Linked DNA regions of Homo sapiens: regions 1, 2, 3, 5, 6 and 7 are each linked to region 4. Evidence: promoter capture Hi-C in human tissues and cell types (Jung and others, 2019). All regions are on one chromosome and are shown on one strand. Each heading gives the region's core, a stretch centred on a gene start or on the middle of the fragment in contact. The rest is flanking DNA. Distances are from core to core; before and after follow the strand shown. Region 1 overlaps LOC339975 (a long non-coding RNA gene). Region 2 holds the start of LINC02514 (long intergenic non-protein coding RNA 2514). Region 3 overlaps LOC339975 (a long non-coding RNA gene). Region 4 holds the start of FAT1 (FAT atypical cadherin 1). Region 5 overlaps LOC339975 (a long non-coding RNA gene). Region 6 has its middle 77 kb from the start of LINC02374. Region 7 overlaps LINC02492 (long intergenic non-protein coding RNA 2492).

Region 1 (3,809 bases), core at 176-2,675, 680 kb after region 4:
CCTGAGTATCCTTGTTAATTTTCTGTCTCATTTATCTGTCTAACATTGACAGTGGGGTGTTGAAAATCTCCCACTATTATTGTGTGGGAGTCTAAGTCTCTTCGTAGGTCTCTAAGAACTTGCTTTATGAATCTGGGTGCTCCTGTATTGGGTGCATATATATTTAGGATAATTAGCCCTTCTTGTTGCATTGATCCCTTTACCATTATGTAATGCCCTTCCTTGTCTTTTTTGATCTTTGTTGGTTTAAAGTCTGTTTTATCAGAGACTAGGATTGCAACTCCTCCTCTTTTTTTGCTTTCCATTTGCTTGGTAAATATTTCTCCATCCCTTTATTTTGAGCTTATGTTTGTCCTTGCATGTGAGATGGGTCTCCTGAATACAGCACACCAATGGGTCTACACCAATGGGTCTTGACTCTTTATCCAATTTGCCAGCCTGTGTCTTTTAGTTGGGGCATTTAGCCCATTTATATTTAAGGTTAATATTGTTATGTGTGAATTTGATCCTGTCATTATGATGCTAGCTGGTTATTTTGCCCATTAGTTTGTGGAGTTTCTTCATAGTGTCAATGGTCTATACAATTTGGTATGTTTTTGCCATGGCTGGTACTGGTTTTTCCTTTCCATATTTAGTGCTTCTTTCAGGAGCTCTTGTAAGGCAGGCCTGGTGGTGACAAAATATTTCAGCATTTGCTGTCTGTAAAGGATTCCATTTCTCCTTCACGTATGAAGCTTAGTTTGGTTGGATATGAAATTCTGGGTTGAAAATTCTTTTCTTTAATAATGTTGAATATTGGCCCCCACTCTCTTCTGGCTTGTAGGGTTTCTGCAGTGAGCTCTGCTGTAAGTCTGATGGGCTTCCCTTTGTGGGTAACCCGACCTTTCTCTCTGGCTGCCCTTAACATTTTTTCCTTCATTTCAACCTTGGTGAATCTGACAATTATGTGTCTTGGGGTTGCTCTTCTCAAGGAGTATCTTTGTGGTGTTCTCTGTATGTCCTGAATTTGAATGTTGGCCTGCCTTGCTAGGTTGGGGATGTTCTCCTGGATAATACCCTGAAGAGTATTTTCCAACTTGGTTCCATTCTCCCCATCACTTTCAGGTACAAACATAGGTTTGGTCTTTTCACATAGTCCCATATTTCTCGGAGGCTTTGTTCATTTCTTGTCATTCTTTTTTCTCTAATGTTGCCTTCACACATTATTTCATTAAGTTGATCTTCAATCTCTGATATCCTTTCTTCTGCTTGATCAATTCAGCTATTGATACTTGTGTATGCTTCACAAAGCTCTTGTGCTGTGTTTCTCAGCTCCATCAGGTCATTTATGTTCTTCTCTAAACTGGTTTTTCTAGTTAGCAATTTGTCTAAACTTTTTCCATGTTCTTAGCTTCCTTGCCTTGGGTTAGAACACGCTCCTTTAGCTCAGAGGAGTTTGTTATCATGCATCTTCTGAAGCCTACATCTGTCAATTTGTCAAAGTCATTCTCCATTCAGTTTTGTGGCCTTGCTGGCGAGGAGCTATGATCTTTTGGAGGAGAAGAGGTGTTCTGGTTTTTGGAATTTTCAGCCTTTTTGCTCTGGTTTTTCCTTATCTTCACGGATTTATCTGCCTTTGGTCTTTGATGTTGGTGACATACAGTTGGGGTTTCTGTGTGGACGCCCTTTTCGTTGATGTTGATGCTATTCCTTTCTGTTTGTTAGTTTTCCTTCTAACAGTCAGGCCATCTGCTGCAGGTCAGCTGGAATGTGCTGGAGGTCCACTCCAGACCCTGTTTGCCTGGGTGTCACCACTGGCGGCTGCAGAATAGCAAAGATCGCTGCCTGTTCCTTCCTCTGGAAGCTTCGTCCCAGAGGGGCACCTGCCAGATGCCAGCTGGAGCTCTACTATATAAGGTGTCTGTCGATCCCTGCTGGGGGGTGTCTCCCAGTTAGGAGGCACGGGGGTCAGGGACCCACTTGAGGAGGCAGTGAGTCCCTTAGCAGAGCTCAAGAGCTGTGCTGGGAGATCCACTGCTCTCTTCAGAGGCAGCAGGCAGGAACATTTAAGTTTGGTGAAGCTGCGCCCACAGCCGTCCCTTCCCCCAGGTGCTGTATCTCAGGGAGATGGGAGTTTTATCTATAAGCCCCTGAATCGTGCTGCTGCTTTTCTTTCAGAGATGCCCCGCCCAGAGAGAAGGAATCTAGAGAGGCAGTCTGGCTACAGCAGCTTTGCTGAGCTGCGGTGGGCTCTGCCCAGTCTGAACTTCCTGGTGGCTTTGATTTCACTGTGAAGGGAAAACCAACTACTCAAGCCTCAGTAATGGTGGACACCCCGCCCCCCACCAAGCTCGAGCGTCCCAGATCGACTTCAGACTGCTGTGTTGGCAGCGAGAATTTCAAGCCAGTGGATTTTGGCTTGCTGGCCTCCATGGGGGTGGGATCCGCTGAGCTAGACCACTTGGCTCCCTGGCTTCAGCTACCTTTTTAGGGGAGCGAACGGTTCTGTCTCACTGGTGTTCCAGGTGCCACTGGGGTATGAAGAAAAACTCCTGCAGCCAGCTGGGTGTCTGCCCAAACGGCTGCCCAGTTTTGTGCTTGAAACCCAGGGCCCTGGTGGTGTAGGCACCCCAGGGAATATCCTGGTCTGCCGGTTGCAAAGACCGTGGGAAAAGCGTAGTATCTGGGCCGAATGCACCGTCCCTCAGGGCACAGTCCCTCATGGCTTCCCTTGGCTGGCGGAGGGACTTCTCTGACCCCTTGCGCTTCCTGGATGAGGCAACACCCCACCCTGCTTTGGCTTGCCCTCCATGTGCTGCACGCACTGTCTAACCAGTCTCAGTGAGATGAGCCAGGTACCTCAGTTGGAAATGCAGAAATCACCCACCTTCTGCATTGATCTCGCTGGGAACTGCAGACTGAAGCGGTTCCTATTTGGCCACCTTGCCAGCCCATCTCGAGTAAGTTTTCTTATCTTTGCATGTATATCCGATAAGCTAGATTTAGTGGTCAATAGCGATTTTTGGAATGAATGAATAAATAATAAGGATTGCTCTTTTTTTTACTGCACTATAAATGTGTAGAAGTCATGTAATTTAAAATTTATTTGTGTTAAAATGTTGGGTAAAATATTTTTACTCTACTTTAAATATCTAAGTTATTAAATATAACTGGCTGCATTTATTTTATTAAAACTTACAAAATAATTTTTATAACTATACAAATTATAGGATCATCTACATATTGTGCCTATTAAAATTTTACTTAAATATGATTTTAGTTTTTTATAGACAGAAGTATAAAGAATGCTTCAAAATCTTAATCATTTAGAACTAAAATTATGTCTGGTGTCTTGAAATCCAGATTTACGTATGTGTTAAAGATACTGGTTATTTCCTCAAGTCAAATCATGGAATTGAGAGGTAGAGTTGAATACAGTTTTAATAAATATGCATTGGTTCCTATGTGGCTATTCTTGCTGTAGTAGTACACTAACACTCTACAAAAATCTGTTTTACAAAAAGAAACCTTTGGAAGTAACACTTATATAAATTAATGAAAAAAATGAATGAATATATGTAATGTAATAAACATTAAATGATTAATCAGTGGAGATCCTGGATTATAAGACAATAAAAATATTAAACAGTTTTCTCAGGGAAAACATTTTAGGACAACTATATATATATATATATATATATATATATATATATATATATATATATATTTATTTATTTCCCCCCTATTATTTCAGGGGCTATATCGTAAAGAAGAAATAAAACTTGAAAATAAATGTACATTGACTAAGAATTTAACTGTTGAAACTCAAA
Region 2 (3,603 bases), core at 557-3,056, 650 kb after region 4:
ACTGGTGATGGAGGTCCCTGGAAGGCCAATTTTCTGTATAAGCAATGGGGAAGTGTATCAGTCAGATTTTTTTTTTTTTCAGAGTCTTGCTCATCACCCAGGCTGCAGTGCAATAGTAGCATCTCAGCTCACTGCAATCTATGCCTCCCAGGATTAAGTGATTCTCCTGCCTCAGCCTCCCGAGTAGCTGGGACTACAGGTGCGCGCCACCACGCCCAGCTAATTTTTGTAGTTTTAGTAGAGATGGGGTTTCACCATGTTGGCCAGGATGGTCTCGATCTCCTGACCTTGTGATCCGCCCGCCTTGGCCTCCCAAAGTGCTGGGATTACAGGCGTGAGCCACCGCACCTGGCCCAGTCAGGGTTTTCTACAAGAATCACAAACAATTCCAGTCATTTTAAGTGGAAAGACATGTAACACACAAAGTAAAATATTTTCAGGATCTGTAGAAGGTCTAAGGAGTAGGTCTGAGATTAGCCTCTTGGAATCGCATTACACTTCAAACAACACAGACTGGAGTAATAGAGCTATTCTCTCTGAGGCCACCACACTGGAACTATGCTGGAAATAAGGGGTTAAAACTGGCATCTCTGCCACCACCACCTGTCAATATTCAGGAGCCTATGTAACAGACGCTGGCTGGCTGCTGGAGGAACATCATATTTCCATGGACTTTCTTATAAACGGCACCCTCCAAAACTTTCACAGAGACGGACTCTGCTCACTCCTGCATTCCAAATATCTCATGAGTTCATCAATACAGAATTCTAGCATCAAAAGAATCTAGGAAGTGTAACTGAACTTTCCAATCTTCCCAAAGAGAGAAAAGATGCAAGGGAGACTGAGTGAACCAACATAAATAATACAGCAGAAATACCATTAACAATGCTATGCAAAAAAATTGTATATTTGAAATCTTCTAATATTTCTTATCTGTCAATATAGAAATATGGATGTCATAGAAAAGGCATAAATTAGAATAGAAGTTTTGCATATATATTTCTAACCTGAGTGCTTATTTATAATATGGAAATCGGTTTCTAGGACAAGGAAGAAAAGAGAAATCGCTCTTTTATTTAATCAGGAAAGTTTATGAAAGGCAGGAGATTCTGAGACCTCTCCATAAAGGAAAAGGAAGCTTCTTTGCAAACAAAGAATAATGATTCACTTCAGCTCTAGAGAAATGTATGAAGGAAGGGAGGAAAAGAGTTGAAATTCAGAATAAGAGTGTGATTCCATTACCTGAAGAGGCAAAAGAGCAGGAGGAAATTGGACAATCTAGGGTGGGTGAACTCCACAGTATGCAGAAGCTGGTGTTCTTGCCTGTGAGGGTGAGGTTATTTAAAGTAGTTCATCAGGGGAAGACACAGGGTATCTCCCAGGTCCACGGGAACTGGGGTGTGGAAATAGTGTCAACACTGTTCATTGAAATAATGTGTCAGCTGGAGGGGAATGGTCAGCCTGGAAAAGCAGAAGTAAAGTTGGTGGGAGTTCAGCACCATCTGAGCAGAAGTGAACCCAGAGGCCTCCCTAAAGCAGAATTCTTTCAGTACAGCAGGATTGTTGCAGTGAGCTTACCCAACACCACCTTGATGACATTCACACTCATCACTTTTCCCCTCTTGCTATAAAAAGCTAATACACAGTCAGTGACACAGTGTTTGACCTTTCAGTTACCTGAACATCAGGAAGCACATGTTGTGGGTGGGGTGAGAAGGAGACAAGCCCTATTGTGCATATGCATGTCTATATTATCTTCTATACATACCTTTTCATGATGTCAAAAGATCTTTCATCTACAGCTACATAATGTTGAAGTGTACAGAAAAGGAAGCTGAGATTGAAATACTGGAGTGTGATGAATGAAACCCAGAGACCAATGTCCCAAACATAGCCCAGTCTGCATCTCCCACATGAAGGAACCCAAGGAATGGGTAGGAATATTGTGATACTCCTTAAATCATAGTTAGGTAAATTATTCCAACACCTGCTACCTAAGTAGCATTTACCCATGCCTTTCATAGGAAAGAGAGTCTGCCAACTATCTATTGGAATAGAAAGTGAGGCAGGTGGAAGAATCTTATTTGTCAGTGTTAGATTCCTTTGCAATGACAAAAACACATCTATACAGGAAGAAAGCTATTTTATCCCAAATACTGAATGCAACTTTGTTTTCCTTTTGTCTTATTAGTCACGTTTCCATATATCCCCACTTAAGTGACATGAGATGGATGGGTTTCCACAAGGATCAGCTGGAGGAGTTTCACATCCATCTGGCAAAGCTGCATGAAGATAAGCCTCGTGTTTTCCAGGGAACTGCATTGCTCTACAGAGGCAATGCCGAATTATTCAATTGCTTTATGAATATTTCCTCCCATTAACCTCTCTCTGAAAATTTGCTGATACGCATTAAGTGTCTCTTAACCAAAATGCTTGGAACCGGGAGTGTTTTGAATTTTTTCAGATTTTGGAATATTTGCATAGACATAATGAGAACTCTTAGGGATGGGACCCAAGTCTAAACGCAAAATTCATTACTGTTTCATATGTATCCTATACATATAGCCTCAAAGTAATTTTATAAAATATTTTAAATAATATTGTGCATAAAACAAAGTTTTGACTGTATGTTGACTGTGATCCGTCATGTGAAATCAGGTGTGGAATTGTCCACTTGTGTTATCATGTTGGTGCTCAAAAATTTCATATCTTGGAGCACTTCACATTTCAGATTTTTGGATTAGGAATGCTAAACCTATATTGCCCTGTGTCATGGGTCCCTAACACAATCCATTTACTCTTTACTTATTTATTTATTTATTTTAAAAATGTTTACTGAATTCACACTATGAGCAAGACATTGTTTGGTACAAAAGACCAAATTTGGTAAAACAAACAAACAAAAAACATGCTCTTATGGCTAAGAAAAATAAGCGAGGAATAAAATGGATCTTAAGATGAGGAGGATGATGAATGACAAATGTCACAATTAATATATAGAAGGTACTGTCACTTCACCTAGGGAAACTGAGAAAGCTTCCTTAGCTTTGGAGCCATGAAGGATGGCTAACATTTACACAGGCATAGGTATGAGTCTCAGTAGAGAGCCAAGAAGAGCAGGAGCCTGTTGTGAAAAGCAGTGAATTACTTATTTGGCTAGTGGGTAGGAGGCAGGAAAAGTAAACCTGAAGCCTTTGGGGATGTTTGCAGGTAGCTGTATCTATTGCTGTTTGGTGCCCAGAGTATATGACTGTGTGGCGTCATTTAATAATGCTTTAGTGGAACATTTCAAAGTAGCCCCGCATAAAATCGTTCAGCGTAAGCCAGATAATCCTACCTAGTTTGAGAGGCATTTCCAAACTAGACTCCTGGGCCAATTTGCCATATTGCTACATTGTGCTGGGGCTAGGATCTGGGCCAATATGAATCTAGCTTTCTTTAAACCAGTTATTATATCTTTGCATAGTATGTGTTGCATCCTGGGCTGAAACTGAGCCTTGGAGGGAGCCTAAAAGAGAGTGAAGAATAGCAAGGTCTCTAAAGTCAGACTGCCTAACATTTCAGTTCTGGCTGGAGACTCCAGAATAAGTCACCAACTTTATG
Region 3 (3,561 bases), core at 350-2,849, 620 kb after region 4:
CAGATCCATCAGCGGAATCACTATCTATGGCAGCTATAGCCTTATGAAATGTAGTTCTCAAATAATAAGACTTGAAAGTCAAATTACTCCTTGATCCATGGGCTACAGAATGGATATTGTATTAGCAGGCAAGAAAACACATTAATCTCCTTGTACATCGCTATCAGAACTCTCAGATCATTAAAGTGCCCAGATGGCCCAAAGCAATATATAAATCCAATTCAATTCGTATCAAATTACCAATGTCATTTTTCACAGAATTTAGAAACAGATCCTAAAGTTCATATGGAACAAAAAAGAGTCATAATAACCAAAACAGTCCTAAACAAAAAGAACAAATCTAGTGGCATCACACTGTCTGACATCAAATTATAATACTAGCCTATAGTAACTAAAACAGCATGATTTTTGCATAAAATAGATACATAGAGCAATGGAATGGAATAGAAAATGCAGAAATAAAGCCACATACCTACAATTAAGTGGTCTTTGACAGAGTTGAAAAAATAAACAATAAAAAAAGACAGTAAATGGTACTGGGAAAATTGGCTAACCACATGCAGATAAATAAAACTGGACCACTATCTCTCACCATATACAATAATTAACTCAAGATAAATTAAAGACATAAATGTAAAACTTAAAACTATAAAATTCCTAGAAGAAAACCTAGGAAAAACTCCTCTAGATGTGGGTCTAAACAAAAAATTTATGACAAAGACACCAAAGCAAATATAACAAAAATAAAAAAGATAGATCAGAATTAATTAAACTAAAAAGCTTCTGTACAGCAACAAAATAATCAACAGAGTAAACTAATATACAGTATAGGAGAAAATAATTGCAAATTATGTCTTCAACAAAAGACTAACATCCAGAATCTACAGGAAACTCAAACAACTCAACCAGAAAAAACAATCCCATTAAAAGGTGGGCAAAGGACATAAACAGACATTTCTCAAAAGAAGATATACAAGCAGCTAACAAACACATGAAAAAATGCTCAACATCACTAATCATCAGGGAAATGCAAATTAAAACCACACTGAGGTATCACTTTACACCAGTCAGAATGGCTACTATTAACCAGATGCAGACAAAGGGAAAACTTGTACACTCTTAGTGAGAATGTAGATTGGTTCAATCTCCGTGGAAAACACCATGGAAATATCTCAAGGAACTAAAAATAGAGCTTCCATTCAACCCAGCAGTCCCACCAGTGGGTATCTACCCAAATGAAAAAAAAATATTTATATAAAAAGACAGCTATACTTGTTTGTTTATTGAAGCACTATTCACAATAGCCAAGTCACAGAACCAACCTAAGTGTCCCATCAACAGATGACTAGATAAGTTTTATATATATATATACACACACACACACACACACACACACACACACACCATGGAATACTACATAGCAGTAAAAAATGAAATATGTCTTTTGCAGCAACAAGGATGGAGCCCTTCTGAGAACTGACTGAGAAGCAAAAAATCAAATATTGCATGTTCTTACTTATAAGTGGGAGCTAAACAATGGGTACACATGGATATAGCAATGGAAATAACAGACAGTCGGAACTCCAAAAGGAGGGATGGAATAGAGGGGTAGAGGGGTGAGGTTTGAAAGATTACCTATTGAATACAATGTTCAGTATTTGAGTGACAGTTACACCAGATGCCCAATCCCCAGCATTACACAATATACCTATATAATGAATATGTACATGTATTCATTAAATCTAAAATTAAAAAGATAAATAAAATATACTGGAAAAAAGAACTCAAGTTACTAGGTGCTTTGTCTGTGAGCAGAAATATTTTGAAAGAAATTTTTTTTCCTGAGCAGTAGGTCTCAACAGTGGGCTGAAAATATTCAGTAAACCAGGCTGTAAAGAGATGTGCTGTCATCCAGACTATGCTGTTCCATTTATAAAGCACAGGAAGAGTAGCTGTAGCATGATTCTAAAGGGCCCTAGGATTTTCAGAATGGTAAGTGAACACTGGCTTCCACTACATTTGCCCCTACCAAGAGAGTTAGCCTGTTCCTTGAAGCTTTGAAGCCAGGCATTCGTTTCTCCTCTTCACTAAGAAAGTCCTAGATGGCATCTTCTTTCAATAGGAGGTTGTTTTGTCTACACTGTGAATTTGTTGTTTAGTGTGGCCACCTTCATCAATGATCATTACAAGATCTTCTGGATAACTTGCTACAGCTTCTCCACTAGCACTTGCTGCTTTACCTTGCACTGTTATGTTATGGAGATGGCTTATTTCCTTATCTCATGAACTGACCTCTGCTAGCTTCAGACTTTTCTTCTGCAGCTTCCTCACCTCTCTCAGCCTTCATAGAATCGAAGACAGTTAGGACTTTACTATGGATTAGGCTTTGGATTAAAGGAATGTTGTGCCTGGTTTGATCTTCTGTCCGGACCACTAAAACTTCTAACATTAATGAAGCTGTGTCTCTTTCTCATCATTTCTGTGTTCCTTGGAGTTGAACTTTTCCCTCAGGAACTTTTCCTTTGCATTCACAACTTCACTAACTGCTTGGTGCAAGAGGGCCAGTTTTCATCCTATTTTGGCTTTTGACGTGCCCTCCTCATTAAGCTTAATCATGTCTAGCTTTTGATTTAAAATGAGAGACATGCAACTCTTCTTCTCACGTGAACACTTAGAGGCCATTGTGGGGTTATCAATTGGCCTGATTTCAATATTGTTCTGTTTCAGGGAATAGGGAGGCCTGAAGAGAGGAAGAGAGAGAGAGAGAGATGGGGGAACAGACTGTCATCAGAGCAGTCAGAACACACACACATCATTTATTGACCATTTGCTGTCTTATATGGATGCAGTTTGTGGTGACCCAAAACAGTTACAATAGTAACACCAAAGATCACTGATCAAAGATCCCCATAACAGATGATAATTTAAAAGTTTGAAATGCTATGAGAATTATTAAAGTAGGACACAGAGACATGAAGTGGGCACAAAATGTTGGAAAAATGTAACCAAATGAGTTGCTTGATGCAGGGTTGCCACAAACCTTCAATTTGTAAAAAATGCAGTGTCTGTGAAGCTCAATAAAGCAAAGCACAATAAAATGAGGTGTGCCTGAATATATCATATATAGTAACAAGAATACAAATACCAGATAAATGCATGTATACAGATGCAAAATTTTCATATATTACATGCTACAGCACAATATTAACTGCATAAACTATAATAATTTAAGGGTGCATATGGTAATCTCTGGAATAATTTCCAAAAATATATAATAACAATGCAAAGAATTGTAGCTAAAAGACCACAAAACAAAAACAAGAAACATGTGGGACAAACAGAAACCGAACAGTAATATAGTGAACTTAAATCCAACCATAACAAGAGTTACATTAAGTATAAGGTGACTAAGCCTTACAATTAAAGGGTATGGGTTGTCAGACAGGGTTGAAAAAGAATAATTTTCTTTTTGCTTTCCTGTATGGAGACTACCAGTTTTAATTCATAGTATTTGAATTATCTTTCAATGTTTCATACATTTTAATTCTCATTTTGATTTAT
Region 4 (3,553 bases), core at 481-2,980:
CTACGCCCGGCCATAATTTTTAAACATTTTTCTGTTGGCACCTGTCCGGACCATGGATTTAAATGATCTACTAACATGATGAGAACCCAACGGGGATACTTCAAAAGAGACAAATGAATATACAGGTGGCCCGAAATGATTTTATAAAGTCCTCTAACAACCACACTTCTTTCCAGAGTGCCAAAGAATTTGGCTCATTTAAGGTGTTCATTTTTCAAAAAATGGTTATACAAATGCAAACTTCATTCAAATCAAACCTTACCTTGAGCTTGTTAAATGCCATGTTTAGCATCACTCAAGGCTTATACCAATTGTTGTTTTAAAAAATTACATAGTGCTTTAAGTATTTTTACATCTTAAATACAAAGGAATAATTCTAACTGTGGAATCAGAGCTGTCTTCCTAAGACAAAAAGACAAAGACAAATATCACAATTAACTATTAACTGGAGAAACACCTTTTCAAACGTCCCTGTAACAACTGGATGTGTTGGACAGCATAACCAAACTCATTAAGAATAGTGTGAAAAACATCACCATTACCTAGTTCTCACACACAGATACCTTCTTAAACTATCGAAACCTGTATCTGAATATACGAAGCATTAAGAATCTGCTTTTGAAAAGGAAATGAATATCTGAAGGTCATTTTCTTTTCAATCTTTTCTCATACTAATAATCACTGTTAATATCCACTTTTAAAAAATCGCCTCTATCAGGCACCCGGGAATTGCTTAACAAAAGCCACTTAATGAAACCACAGTTCAGACAAAAAAAAAAACTTAACTGCATAGAAAATATTTATGAGTTTACTTTCCTAACTCATACAATTGCGTCCTTGTTTCCAAAGCCTTGCAATTCACATCAGCGGGAACAAAAAAATCTAACACACAGCAGAAAGCTGGCTCTCTAAAAGAAAGCATTTTTTTTTAAAGGCAATGAAGGACCAAAAACTCTTTCTTTTAAAAAGATCTTAGAAGTTCCTCCTCCAGAGAAGACAGAAAACACTGACAAACCGCACATTGTGCAGATGTTCAGCCCCGAAATGCAGCCTCGCAGCCCTTCACTCCGCAGTCCACCGGTTGCATCTGCACCTCCGGGCAGCGCTCCTGCAGGGCGCAAACACCCAGAGACCCAGGGACCCGGCAGCCCCGCGCAGGCCTCCCGCGTGCACCGCTCAGCGAGCGGGTCTTTCGCAGACGGCGGGATGCCCCAGGAGACCGCGAGGCCGGCGCAGCCCGGCGAGCTCCCGGAGGGAAGGCGGCGTGTCAGAAAGGATCGGACCCCAGCAATGGCCCCGGATCGGTCCCGCGCGGTCGCCTCCTTTTCCCGCTCCGCCGCCGGGACCCCCCTAGCCAGTGCTGAATTTCCCAACTGGGAAGGACCGAGTCACTCCACCCTCCGGGAAGTCGCGCGCTCATCCGTTTTCGGCAGCGCCGGAGCCCGAGCCGGGGACCGGGCGGACACCCACAGAGTCCGCACCGCAGCGCGCTGCACGCTCTCGCCCCCGCCCGCCGGCCCGCGCCCCAGCGAACTAACCGCAAAGTTGGCCCGAAGTGGCGACGGCGCTCTCGTGGAGCTCACCCGCCGTCTCAGCGCGCCCCCGAGCAGGGACCGGGCCTGCCGGGGCCCTCGCCGGGCTCGCGCGTCCGCATGGTACCTGCCGCACGAGCCGCTCCCGCGCCCTCTCCCCGCGCCCGGCCGCCCAGCTCGGCGCCGGCGCCTCACGCTCCCCGAGCGCAGGAGATCCCTCCGCCCCGGCCCCGCCCGCCGGCGCCGGCGCTCATTTCTCGGGCGCGGAAACTCGAGCCCACTTTCCCCGGCTGCCGGCTCTGGGACCGCGGGCTCGGCCACGCAGTCCCGCCCGGACCCAAAGAGCCCCAGTCCCTGCGAACACCAGGTCCGTGCTGGGAGACGAGAAGGCGCCCAGCGGGGTCTAGCGCGGCTCCGAGGGGCAGGGCGAGGCTTGTGATGCCGAGGTTAGTTACGGCCAGCCACAGGCGCTGTGCAAGGAATTGGGGAAAGCTCCCTGCCAAGAAAGGGAAACGTTAGCTTAGCTAAAAAAAAAAAAAAAAAAAAAAGGCTGGGGCCTAATGAGAAAGCTTCCCAGAGGCATCCCTTTAGCTTTTCCATAGCCTTCTGGGAGCCCCTGAATCTGCATTTGAATGGCGCGGCTCTGGGTCCGCGAAGGTTTGGTGGGCTGAAGTCGTCCTTCAGGTCTCCAAAGGAATGCAGCTAGGTCGGAATCTACTTCCTCCTTCAATCCCCAGAAAATGGAAACGCTTCCCCCGCGACCTTTTTCTGCCGAGTTAGACCCCAGGCCCTCCCCGCCGCGGGCGCCTGGCCTCCCCCGCTGACACCCCGGACGCCCAGGCCTGTGGGACAAAAGGCAGTCGCGGCGTCCCGCGGGCTTCCTAGCCCGGGAGTCGGCCCCAGGGGCCCCAAAGCGTGACCCCAGGCCGACAACTGCAAGTTCCTAGGCAGAGGGGAAGCCCCAGCGCCGAGAAGCCCGCTCCGAGAACTCCCCGCGCCGGGCGCCCAGCCTGAGCGTCCCGGGCGCGGAGCCCATCCCCGGTGCGGGCAGGGCTCCAGCCGCAGGCTCGGCGCAGGGCGGACTCGGCCGAAGCCCGGAGGGCCGGAGGCGCTGGGACGCAGCCCGGACAAGAGGGCGGACTTGATCTCGGAAAGTTTGTGGGACTCAGGCATTTTAACACTGGGAAGACAAAGAGATCCGATTTCCCTGGGACTGGTGAGGGGAGCTTGGCGGGGAGGGGAACGGCAGGGCAGTCAAGTGTGAAAGAGAATTTCCTGGGTTCAAAGTTAACGCAGTCACCTTATAAGCCATCTTAGAGGTGACCGGAAAAAATAATAATAATAAAGGTGTCTAGCAGGTTGTGGCTGGGAAGGAAAAATAATGCCTGCAAGATGAGTGTGCCGATTCGTAGCCCTATATTCCCTGCCCACCAGTTGGAATACACATAGATTCACACATCCAGCAAATGCAAACTCCATCATCCAAAGACGTGTTTGTCCCGGCCATAATTGCTCCAAGTGCTTACAGGTCAATTTCATACATGGAACACCTCGAAAGTGGGTGACCTGATCTCCAAGCCCAACCGGCTTGTGCCGCTTGCCGAATTGTAAATCTCAGCAAAACCCAAACACACCGGAACTCCAGCCGTTTCCTGGGAGCGAGGAAGCGGGAGTAATGCTAAAAGGGGAAAAGAAGAACAGTAAAAAAAGTACAAAGATACCATTCCCTGACGTAAAATCACGGGATTTTTTTTAAATGGCACAAGAGAATTCCTGGAGAAGATTACCATTAATTAATAAGTAATAACGCTTCCTAGGGCTTACTAGATGTTTTACATCTGTCTGGGAATCCCGATTTTCCAGGCTCCCTGAGAAATCTATCTGCCTGGAAGAAGTTGCACTTCGTCGCCACAGGAGCCGCCGAGAGCCAGGGATGGAGATTTCAGACTTAGGACTCTGCCACGATTCTACTGATCCTTAAGCGCCAACAGAACGAAATGGACATGCCTATTAGCTACCAC
Region 5 (3,524 bases), core at 749-3,248, 750 kb after region 4:
TCTTTTAAAAAGTTGTTCTAATACTAACAGTTTAAATAATGTGAGTATCCAATTACTTGGTTTTATTATCCTACATATTTAACACTTACATCCAGGAACATGCAGGTTTTCTTTTATGCTTAGCTTTGTTTTCTGGGGTAACAATGAAGAAAATAATCTCTAGAGAATAAAAGATAAGAAACCATGAATTATCTGAAAGACTTAAGGTTTATATCATTTGGAGCCTGAACTTAAATGATGTGTTTGCAGGAGAAAAACAATTCTAGAAGACCATTCTACTTAAATGGAGCTTGTACTAAAGTGTTGAAAAGCTGCAAAATGTTGCTTATTTTTAAGTTTAAGGCAGCTATACCTGGAATAATTACCATGACAACTTAAGGCCAAGTTCAAGAGCCCGAGTGAAAAATAGAATCAGTTCTATAATTGATTCTCTTTGAAACTACTAAATTCACAGTTGCAGAATTGTACCACTTTAACTATATTCTTTGTCTGAATTATATGCAGATTGTACAGGTTATGTGTTTTTACTGTAGCTTTGGTATTTCATTTCTGGAGAAGAAACAAGGTTGTCAGTCAAATATCTTAAACTATGAAATAGTGCATGGACTCACAGAGCTCCGCTTCACATGCATAGTGTGAGATGAACAGAAAGTGGCCACTGGCATGACAAGAACATCTGCTACTTAAAACTATGTGGCCATAAGCAAGATAATTAACCTCTTTAAATTTTCTTTTTTATCTTTATAAATAAGAATGTCAATGAATTCCTTATACAGATATAATGATAAAATGAGATAATATATTTAAAGGGTATAGAAAGGTGCCTAGCATATTTAAACCATCTAAAAATAGTTTTGCTTTTATGTATTGAAAAGTTCGGTTGCACCAAAGTCACTGCAAAAGTGACTAGTCAAAGGCAAGTAACACAAAACTTAAGAACAATTGGATTACATGAGTAAGAGATTTGTAGTTCTCCCCCTACAAATATGGAGTTGGCTCAGGACAGAGCTCTTCAAGAATGTTTTCAAGGACCTAGGCTCCTCATCTCTCCAGTCCTAACCCTTGGTCGTGACTTTCATCCTCATGATTCCAAGACAGCTGCTGCACATCCAATGCCATGTCTGCATTCCAACCACAAAGAAGGAAAAAGGATAAAAAGCCAAATATCTTCTTCACATAGGAGGTTTTTTCTTTTTAATTTGGAAAAATAACCACTTTCTAGCTAACTTTTAATTATATTCTATTAGTGAGAAGAAATATACCAAATTGCCATTTAACACAAAGAGGGGTAGGAGGTTTTAGGTCTTAACTGGAAACATAGCTATTCCTTTCTCTGTATCTGTTATCTGTCTCTGTCTCTACCTCTCTCTTTCTGTGTGTGTGCATGTGTGTGTGTTGTGTAAAGAGAGACACACACAGAGAGAGAGAGAGAAAGAAAGAGAGAGAGAACAAAAGAAGAAAGGAGAAGGTATATTGGATAGCTAACCAGCAATGTTAGCCACGGTTATATTTAGACAATTCGTTTTGCAGCTTATAAGAGGGCATGCTTGAATATAAACTCATATGACAAGCATAGTTAAAATACTTTCATTCAATTTTGCATTCCATGAAGCTTCACTATATACTCTAGTCCAGTTTAGCAAGGAGTGTTAGACTGGGGCTAGAATCTGGACAGCCTGTGTCTGTCTCTAGTTTACTGCTTAGCTTTGTGCAAATTACCTAATTATTCTGCATATAATTTTCCTCTCCCATTAAATGTGGAGGTCAGATGAGAGGCTACCAATTTCAGATCTTAAATTTGGTGGTTTCATGATTGTTATATTTCTCCCTATTCTTTTAAAAAACAGTTTCATATTTTCAAAAACTTAATAATTTTCTGGAACTATTGAACTTTGGTTAAGACAGTCTTGCAGAGGTTATGTATTGTTCTCAGCACTGTGCCAGGCTGCATGTGAGACACAAAACCAGTTAAAGACATGCCCGCCGCTCTCCGTGTATGACACTAAGCACCTTCAGTGTGGCCATGACTCACTGTTGGTGCCAAGGTTCCAAGAAGAGATAAGTCAGAATGACATGAGGAATTTAAAGATGGCTTCACAGATGAATGGAACTGGAACTCAATGCCATCTCACTAACATTTGAAAATTAAATACAAGGTAGAATGAAAAGATATGGTTAGGTGGATAAAATATGAAGGAACATCTCAAACAAAGGGAGATGCACCAACAGAAACACAGATGAGAACGCAGGTGCTATGATGTGGATGTTTGTCTCTCCAACCCCTGCATTGAAATCTCACCCCAGTGTTGGAGGTGGGGCCTGATGAGAGGAGTCCGGGTCATGAGGGCAGATCCCGCATGAATAGATTAATGGCCCCCATTGGGGGTGAGTTCTCACCTCAGAGTTCCCACAAGAACTGGTTGTTCAAAAGAGGCTGGCACCTGTGTCCACCCACCTGCCATGTCCTCTCGCCATGTGATCTCTACGTACCAGCTCCCCCTCACCTTCTCCTGGCACCATGGTGGACGTTCCCTGAGGCCTCACCAGAAGCCAGGCATTGTCAGCACTGTGCTTCTTGTCCAGCCTGCAGAACCATAGGCCAAATAAACCCTTCTTTATAAATTACCCACCTCAGGGATTCCCTTAGAATACCAAATTAGACTCAGACAGTAAGCTTGACAAGTTGGGGCCGAGGAAGGAGCCTCTCCCAGTTAGGTGAGAAAGCATATGCTAGTGACTGATAAAAATAAGGTTGCCCGAAGACTTCGTAAACCTGTTTCCTGCAATTCTTACTCTAACACAAATACACAGCTAGGACCAGGAGGCTGCTTCACCATAAGTGTCTCTACCACTTGCACACACAGTGCACACAAGTTGAATCAGAGCAACTTGCTGTACTGGACCCAGGTTCCTGTGAGCAGAAAGTACAATACACTCCTCAGTATCCATGCCATGTATCCGACTCAGTGTCACTCAGTGTTGCTAATACTGTATCCGGACTTAGCCAACTCCTGGATCCAGAGCTGGCCAAAATAAGCAAAACAAACAAACAAAAACCTACCTGAATGCCTTTGTTGCACCTTCAGTTGTGAACTAATCAGTCATAAATCCCAACCCAACTCTTTCTATCTCTTGCCTATAACTGTTCCTGTCACTTATGCATTGGTATCACAAATGGGAGAGACCTGGTGTTAATTCATTGAGTAATGAGAAGCCACTATGGATACTTGAAGCAGAAAGGAACTGTTTTACGAAGTTCTGTTCCTCGGCAGCATTTGAAATAAAAAATAATGTAGTCATCTCACTAGGCAGATGAGATAAAGGATTGCTGTGTCTATTATCTTGGAGAAAGACCATAAAGACCTAGATTGAGGTGGTAGACTTTCAAGTGAGGGTGAAAATAAATGGGATTTGAGCTACAGATTGGAAACACAGAATGGATTGGAACAGAGAGTGTGCAACTGTCTTTATTTCAGATTTCTATTTGCCCAGTGTTTGTCCATTTTTCACCTGGGGAACAGGAC
Region 6 (3,561 bases), core at 334-2,833, 550 kb after region 4:
ATGCTTTGTTGACTGGCAAGTTCTTGCTAGCGTCTTTCCTGCATTGCTGTGTTTCCTTAAACAAATCTATCAGTATTTGCAGAATTAGATCAATTGGAGCTGGAAACATCTTCCTGGATGATGGAGCCTTTCCTCTGACTCACAACCAGTTGCTGTGTGCAGCTTCTCCTGTACACTTTGGCCTAGTTTTACCACAGTAAGAAAAACGTATGTGACTCCACTTTCAGTTTCCAACGCTCATGTCTGCCCAGGATTCCCTAATTAACAGTTGACTATTTTTAACTTTTTGCGTTTTGTGTCTTACCATGTAGTTTTCAAAATTGGTTCTGGTAAAGTCACATCTGGTACCTTTAGTTGCCTTTTGGTTTCTAGACTCACTTTCTCCACTGTGAAATCTGCATGTGCTGGTACTGCTGGCAGCTCCTCCAACAGACCTGCTGAAATAGCTGCAGAATCCTTTAGGACAGGAAAGGAAGTTGCCCGAATTATTTTCTAGAGCAAAGTAAGTTAGAAAATGTGTAAACAGGTAAAGCTTTGTCACCTATAAGGTGAACCAAAGTTGTGGGGTTCATCTCTCCTCTGCTGTCCTTCCCTTCCTCACCCAGCCTCCTTCTCCTCATATTAATGTCACATTGAAATCTGTGCTACTTGCAGGAACTTGAACTTCTGTCTCAAGCATCTTTGGACACATTCTTTTCTTTCTTCCTGAAGTGGTCTTCCCTCTATAGCCTTCAAATTCATGTGTTAATTTACCCTTAAATTTATTTTCCTTCTCTCCTTTTTTAGCCATATTTCTTTTATTTATGTTTCTTGCTGTGTATATGCATAGATACACACATATATGCTGTATGTGTATATATAATATAAGCTACTTCATTTCCTCTTTACAAGGCAAATATGCAATATGAAAAGATACCACACAGGATATTAAGCATTGGTGAACTGCTGCCCTGAAGTTATTTATACTCCATTTGGAGAAAGTCTTAAAAAATTATCTACTAAAAATTCTGCAGTACAGATTTAGAAGTGAAGTATATTCAGGCCCAGAGGTAACAAAAAAGTGAGAATAATCATTTCTGCACATGGACAGGGAGAAATGTGTTGCTAGAACACTACAAAAGTGATGCTATTTGCATCTTGAATCTTCAAGAATAAGAAAGAACATCAGAGAAAAATGGGACCTTGTTATTTAGCTTGGTTCTGTATTCAAGTGCAATGACATTGAGCCTTTCTTTCCTTCATTTTTTCCTGCTGCAGAATGCTAGTTATGTCTTATCCCCTAGATCTACATAGGTGAATCTGATCAGATTATAATAATTGCCACAAAAATATCATGTGGATATATGCTCTGGGGTTGTACAATACTCTTGCTGAAACAATACAGATAAAAACTGGTTAAAATAAATTATGAGGGTTATTTGATGAAGAATAGGTATTATATAACGGGTCTTTATGAAAAAAACTGCTCTTATAGTTTCTCCTTTGTGACAATATATGCAGATTTGAGGATGATATTTTTAATGTGTAATGATCAGTCCTTTGTCATACCAGTTAGTGGCCCTACCTCCTTCTTTGTAATCAGCTACTATTCTAAAAGACTGCATGTCAGTAAATAATCTGTTAATGCAATAGCCTCAACTTCTCAAATTCTAAATATGATTTGGTAATCACATATCACATAAAGATTTTATGAGAGAATTGGAAAAGAAAAATCCGTCATGGATAATCGGTGTGGTCTTTTGGCTAACACTTTATACTGTGCTTGCGGCTTGTACTTTTTCATATTTTGAATTCATTAATTGTGCATTTCTTTTTCCCCTGTTAGATTATAAGCACCCCGTGGGCAGGGACTGCTAGGTTCTTGATATCTACACAAGGCTCAGTAAGCATTGAGCTGAATGGAGAGGCTGGCCCAGCTAGAAAGCATACAGATTATGCTGATGGTGCCAGCTGGATGGAATTGAACTGAGGAAATTAGCATTGATTCTAGAATTAGAACCACCTCCTCTCAGTCTGCCATGTAGCCAAATCTTAAACCAAGGGTTATTTTGATTTTTTAAAAAATCGCATTACTTAAGTTTACTAGGTAGAAGATTTTCTGAATTGGAACCATGTTTTTCATATTTTTCCTGTGCAAATAATTCTCAGTTGATAATGTAATTAGACATAACCCAGCTAATTTCTTTGGTATTCCTAACATTTAATTAGCATGTTGTTCTTATTCATTAATACTGTGGTGATATTTTCAGTGCTATTCTTGAGCATTCAAGGTGGTATCAAAGAAATGATTTTTCATGACATGACCACCATGCTATTTGGAAGAAGGAATGTTTGTGCTTGAATACACCATGCCTGCGAGAGTAGACTGCCTCTGTGTCCAGCCATCCCCACAGGGGAGACGCCTCGCAGTGGCGAGAATCCTGATACAGACCTACAGGGAATGACTGGCATTGGCTGCTTTCGATTCTGCTGTGATTGCTGATGTCCCCTGCGGTTCAAAGGATAATTCAGTTTCACCAAGTGTTCTCTTGTTTTGGACTCCATGGTGGAGCCACCAATTTTGCTATCTCATAGGAAATTATTTTTGTGAGGCCTCTTTTATTGGTTATCCAGCCTCTCTCTGAAGCCCGTTCACCCTCAGAGCATCTGGAAGGAGACAGGACAAATACAGTTTGAGAAAAAAGAGGATATGATATAGGGAGAATTCCTTCTACACTGGAAAGAAAAAAAAATGGAAAATCTGCCCCTTACACTCTGGTGGTGATGAGGAAGAGAAACAAGAAAGGAAAAGAAAATTGGAAAAAGAAAAGTGGACAGACATGTTTATGTCTCAGTCCACTCTTCTGGGATGAAACGGAGGGAGTGTGGGAAGATGTTAGATCCTTTGAAGGGAAGGCTGAAGTCAGAGACATGGAAAGAACCCAGAAGCAGAAGGTCCCTGAGCTGAGGGCAACAGGTCTGGCACAGAAGCATCCTCAGGAGAGACCCACTGCTGGGTACAGAGCCCTGGAGGAGGCACCCTGAGGATAGGGCGGAGACTCGGAGGCATCTACAGCACCAGATGCCAAAGACAGGCCACAATGCTTCACTGAGTGCTTCACGGAGTAAATAGAACAAGGAACAATTCACCAGGTACTTTGGAGCAAAGACGAGTGAAGATGCAGGTAAAACTCCTTGACTTAAGCTCCTTTTCCCCCTTTGCTCGTAGGGCATTAGATGTCCTCTTCATTCACCTGGATGTCACCCTGTGGAGGAGCTGAGTGCGTTGTGCATGTCCACTTAACGTTTGCACGCATGTGTGCAGATACGTGTGCTATGTATATGCTGGTGGAGGGTGGCATGGGCTGTCATCCAATAGAAGGGGCTTTTACCTGGAACAGTTGAAGTTAATGAACAATTACTAATTAAATACTACTGCTGGGCACCGTGGCTCATGCCTGTAATCCCAGGACTTTGAGAGGCCTAGGCGGGCAGATTACTTGAGGTCAGGAGTTTGAGACCAGCCTGGCCAACACGGCAAAACCCCATCTCTACAAAAATACAAAAATTAGCTGGGTGTGA
Region 7 (3,749 bases), core at 240-2,739, 820 kb after region 4:
TTGTGAGAATTGAATGGAAAATTATATACATATATATATTTATATATGTAATTTTTAACTTAATCTTGGCCCACATCACATAGAAATAGTAGTAGCAGATATTGTCTTCATCATCATCAAGATAATAAAACCATTTCAGCCCCTTTGGAAAATAATTTGGCATTTCCGCAAAATGTTGTGCATAAACCTACCATATCACCAAGCAATTCCACTCCTAAGTATCTGTCCAAGAGAAAAGAAACATCTATCTACATAAAGACTTGCACATCATTGTTTATAACAGCATTATTCATAAAAGCCAGGACCTGAAAACAACTTGACCACCCCTCAGTTGGCGAATGGATAAAAATATGGTCTATTCATATGATGAAATAGCATTGGATAATAAAAAGGAATGAACTGCTGGCACATGCTACATCATGGATGAACCTCAAAAACATTGCCCTAAGTGAAAGAAGCCAGTCACAAAAGACCACAGACTGTGGATTCCATTTTTAATGATCAATACTAGATTAGTAGTTGCCTGGGGATTAAAGTGTGAAAAAGAATTAACTGTAAATAGGCAGTAGGGATTTTAGATGGGGCATGAAAAAATGCTCCGAGATCGATTTATGGTGATATTCCTATCATGCCACAGAGTTACAAAACAGTCATTGAATTGTATACCTGCAATGGCTGAACTCTTATGATATGCAAAACAGACCTCAATAAAGTTCTTACAAGGAAGATAACAGAACCAAGTTCTAAGTACACCAATTATCCAGTTGCCTCCTTTGTATCTTTCATATATTTAGAGAATCTATGTCCACTAAAATCGCATTTATCCAGTTAAAGATGAGATTAAGAAATTGTGTTTTCCTGTTGATAGCCTGAACCTTAACAGTATAGGTAATATAGGACTTAACGTGATTTTTAGATTCGGAATGATATATTCATTTGTGAACCGTTTTCTGGATCACATAAAACTTTATTCCAAACATAAACTGTAGCACAAATGACACAGTCCTTCTTCACACAGATACACACACACACACACACACACACACAGCCATCAGTACGAGCAGAATGGGGCATAACCTTTCATTCCTCACATAACATCTCCACATGATCCTCCTGCCCCATTAAGAAGACGGCCCAAACCAAGTACCTCAAATCCAGTGTCCCAAGAACTGTTTTTAGTGTTTGAGGTTGTGTACCTGTCTTTACTTGTTCCCAAATTATTCTAATTCTAATCCTTTCAGGTCTCATTTTGATCTTCCCAGCTCTGATCTCCCAACTCTGTGACCCCAAGCTTGATCACTAACTATAGATTTATGGCTTTGAATTGATCTCTCTCTCTCTCTCTCTGCACAGTTTGTCTCCTGTGTGTCTGTCTCTGGGAGAAACCCTCTGCTCTAGCCATGTGAAAACAAATTCTGAACCAGGCCTTCTGACTCTGTCCTCATCCCTCCCTCACCATCTCCTAAACCCTTCGAAGAGGAAGCCATCTTTTTCTTTTCCACATACAGAGCCTTTTATCTGTACATCTATTATGAAATTTAATACTTTCTACTATATATTAAATATAGTTATTTATGTAGTTGTTGTAACCTCAATTGTTTCATCTTTACTTAATATCTTTCAAAGCATGGAATACAGAGCTTTGCTCTCAAGAAAGTATATTTTCCGAAGTGTCCCGATAGATTGAAATATCTGTTAAGTTTAAGTGAAAGGGTTGGTTCTGCTACAGTTTATTTCAGTTATCAGTATAGCACGCACTGATGCCTGAGTTACTGCTGGAAAATACTACCTTCCTGTCTTCTTAAGGCATTGCAAAAGGTATGGGGAAAGATCCTGAATTTGCCCCAATTTTTAAACAAACCAGAGAAACAGTAAAGCATTTAAATGACTTATTAATGTTAACCTATTTATATCTACATATTTGTTAGCCTGTGAGTAAATGGAACTTCGGATCTTTGCAAAAGAACTGCCGGGTTGTAAAAAGGATTGGAAAGTCAGGCTCACTTAGTAGTGTGCAGAGAAACAGACTCTATGCCTGGAGCAAAAAATCCCAGCATCCCCTCCACCTCTACGGTGTGATTTCTTAATGCTGTACTTGGCTCGACAAAGGAAGTCTGATATTTCAGAGGTGAGTTGCAAAGTGGCCAAACCACTCTTTAATGCACTATAGCTTGACATAATATTTGCTGCCAGCTTCTCGTTTAAAAATGCCATCAGTTTAACATTAACTGAAAAAGTAATTATTCTCCAGTTTCACGGAGCTATTAAGAAAAAAAAAGTTCATTGAAACTCCAGGAAATGAAATACTGTGCTTTCAGGACCTATTGGAAGCCTTTCAACATTCAGAGCAGAAAAACATAAATTTATTTTTTAAGAAGCAGATTTAGGAACTTTAGTGAATGGGAACAGAAAGCATTAACTTAAGCCTCAGGGGAGATAACGATTCAACAAAATTCTGAAAACCCTCCTTAGATCAAACTCTCACATATTCTGAAAACTCAGTACCATTTATTGTTACAAGATCCTTGATGATTTAGAAACATGTACCCACACATGTTAAGTCCTCTGTACTAAATCAAAGAAACTTCAAATTAGCTTGAACTTTGAAATGCTGTAAGTTACATGAATGATGATTCATTTCTTTATATTCAGTCACCAAATGTTATTGAGCCGATGATAAGCTTGAAGACGTTAAAGGCTTTGGGGTACAGAAGAGAGATACTAAAGTAACAGCCTGCACATGAGATCTTGACCTGTAATGAAGTGCCAATTTAGTTGTAAAGACAGAACATGTCATCTATAACATCTGAGGAAAATCTTGCTGTGTATGCGGCATAACCTCAGTTTATAAAAATTTGAGAGGAAATCACAAGAATGGAGAGGTTTTGCAAGGTTATGGAGTTTGTACACCATTTTTTTAGAACATGAGGTCTAAAATCAGATGCAAATGTGGGCTCCACATCCTATTTTTTAGGTAACTTTGAACAAGTCACCTCTTTGAACCTCAGTGAAATGCAGCTGAAAGTTCTTTGAAAACTGTAAAGATTATTTATTATTCAGAGATGATTTCTGTGGGTATAAGCAGAAAACACTACTTTTTGAATGAATTACAAACATAAAACCATGACTTTAATGCTAACATTTTTTGAAATTTTTATAAAACTTTCTAATTCACGTTCCCCTACTGTTCCAAAGTCAGTAATTTTAAGATACATGATTTAAAAAGGAAAAAAAAAAACCTAACTGTCAAGAAATATCGCTAACTAGATTGATCATGTTATTTCCTTATTTTTATAATTGAAAAAACCCAAAACTTTAATACTAATTTCTGGTTGCTTAAAAACAAATTAAATATAAAACTGTGTGGCTGTCATAGATGATGATATTTTAATCTATTGAAAATTATTACAGTAGAAAATTTTTAAAGTCTAGGAAGCAATAATCAGCACCAAAATATTGTTTTTGCTGTTGTATGCACAGCTTTAGTTTCCATTTTATGAATAAATACATAAAAATATAGGGTAAAAATATATGTATTTAATAGGATTCTTACAACTTTCTATTAGCACAATGAGTGCAGAGCATTTGTGAATAACATAGAACTAGGGTCTCCCCTACAGCTTTTGAGTTAAGTCTTTTTCTAACAACTGCTATTTATTCAGAGAGGATGCGAAGTAACAGGTCTAAACATTACATTGGCAAAGGAGTACCTTTAAATTGTATGTGGCACAAGCTAAATCTGGGAAAGG

What was found. The method cuts DNA at HindIII sites, captures the fragments that hold promoters and counts their contacts. A contact is called where the count stands out against the background at its distance.
Region 1: a contact is called between a fragment that was not itself captured here and the fragment with the promoter of FAT1 in region 4, in 1 of the 25 tissues and cell types used here (dorsolateral prefrontal cortex).
Region 2: a contact is called between a fragment that was not itself captured here and the fragment with the promoter of FAT1 in region 4, in 1 of the 25 tissues and cell types used here (lymphoblastoid cells).
Region 3: a fragment that was not itself captured here is called in contact with the fragment with the promoter of FAT1 in region 4 in 1 of the 25 tissues and cell types used here (lymphoblastoid cells).
Region 5: a fragment that was not itself captured here is called in contact with the fragment with the promoter of FAT1 in region 4 in 1 of the 25 tissues and cell types used here (dorsolateral prefrontal cortex).
Region 6: a fragment that was not itself captured here is called in contact with the fragment with the promoter of FAT1 in region 4 in 1 of the 25 tissues and cell types used here (lymphoblastoid cells).
Region 7: a contact is called between a fragment that was not itself captured here and the fragment with the promoter of FAT1 in region 4, in 1 of the 25 tissues and cell types used here (IMR-90 fibroblasts).

Annotation. Positions count from the first base shown.
Region 1 is chr4:187,405,961-187,409,769 of GRCh38, forward strand. The region is part of intron 1 of LOC339975 (a long non-coding RNA gene); the gene reads right to left. LINC02515 (long intergenic non-protein coding RNA 2515) reads left to right here and starts at 2,890. Exons shown (of 3, transcript NR_183821.1): 1 at 2,890-2,939. The HindIII fragment of the contact is 3,307 bases long and covers 1-3,079 here.
Region 2 is chr4:187,369,493-187,373,095 of GRCh38, forward strand. It overlaps LINC02514 (long intergenic non-protein coding RNA 2514), which reads left to right and starts at 1,156. Exons shown (of 3, transcript NR_149103.1): 1 at 1,156-1,283; 2 at 1,803-1,934; 3 at 2,192-2,429. All of the region lies in intron 1 of LOC339975 (a long non-coding RNA gene), which reads right to left. The HindIII fragment of the contact is 4,395 bases long and covers 1-3,603 here.
Region 3 is chr4:187,340,320-187,343,880 of GRCh38, forward strand. The region is part of intron 1 of LOC339975 (a long non-coding RNA gene); the gene reads right to left. Among named protein-coding and RNA genes, the nearest start is that of LINC02514, 29 kb to the right of the region's middle. The HindIII fragment of the contact is 3,694 bases long and covers 1-3,446 here.
Region 4 is chr4:186,722,126-186,725,678 of GRCh38, forward strand. It overlaps FAT1 (FAT atypical cadherin 1), which reads right to left and starts at 1,731. Exons shown (of 27, transcript NM_005245.4): 1 at 1,539-1,731. RefSeq lists enhancers at 1,172-1,673, 2,174-3,173. The HindIII fragment of the contact is 8,530 bases long and covers 1-3,553 here.
Region 5 is chr4:187,468,242-187,471,765 of GRCh38, forward strand. The region is part of intron 1 of LOC339975 (a long non-coding RNA gene); the gene reads right to left. Among named protein-coding and RNA genes, the nearest start is that of LINC02515, 61 kb to the left of the region's middle. The HindIII fragment of the contact is 4,826 bases long and covers 1-3,524 here.
Region 6 is chr4:187,276,816-187,280,376 of GRCh38, forward strand. No RefSeq gene overlaps it. Among named protein-coding and RNA genes, the nearest start is that of LINC02374, 77 kb to the left of the region's middle. The HindIII fragment of the contact is 8,426 bases long and covers 1-3,561 here.
Region 7 is chr4:187,545,360-187,549,108 of GRCh38, forward strand. The region is part of intron 2 of LINC02492 (long intergenic non-protein coding RNA 2492); the gene reads right to left. Among named protein-coding and RNA genes, the nearest start is that of LINC02492, 130 kb to the right of the region's middle. The HindIII fragment of the contact is 4,057 bases long and covers 1-3,518 here.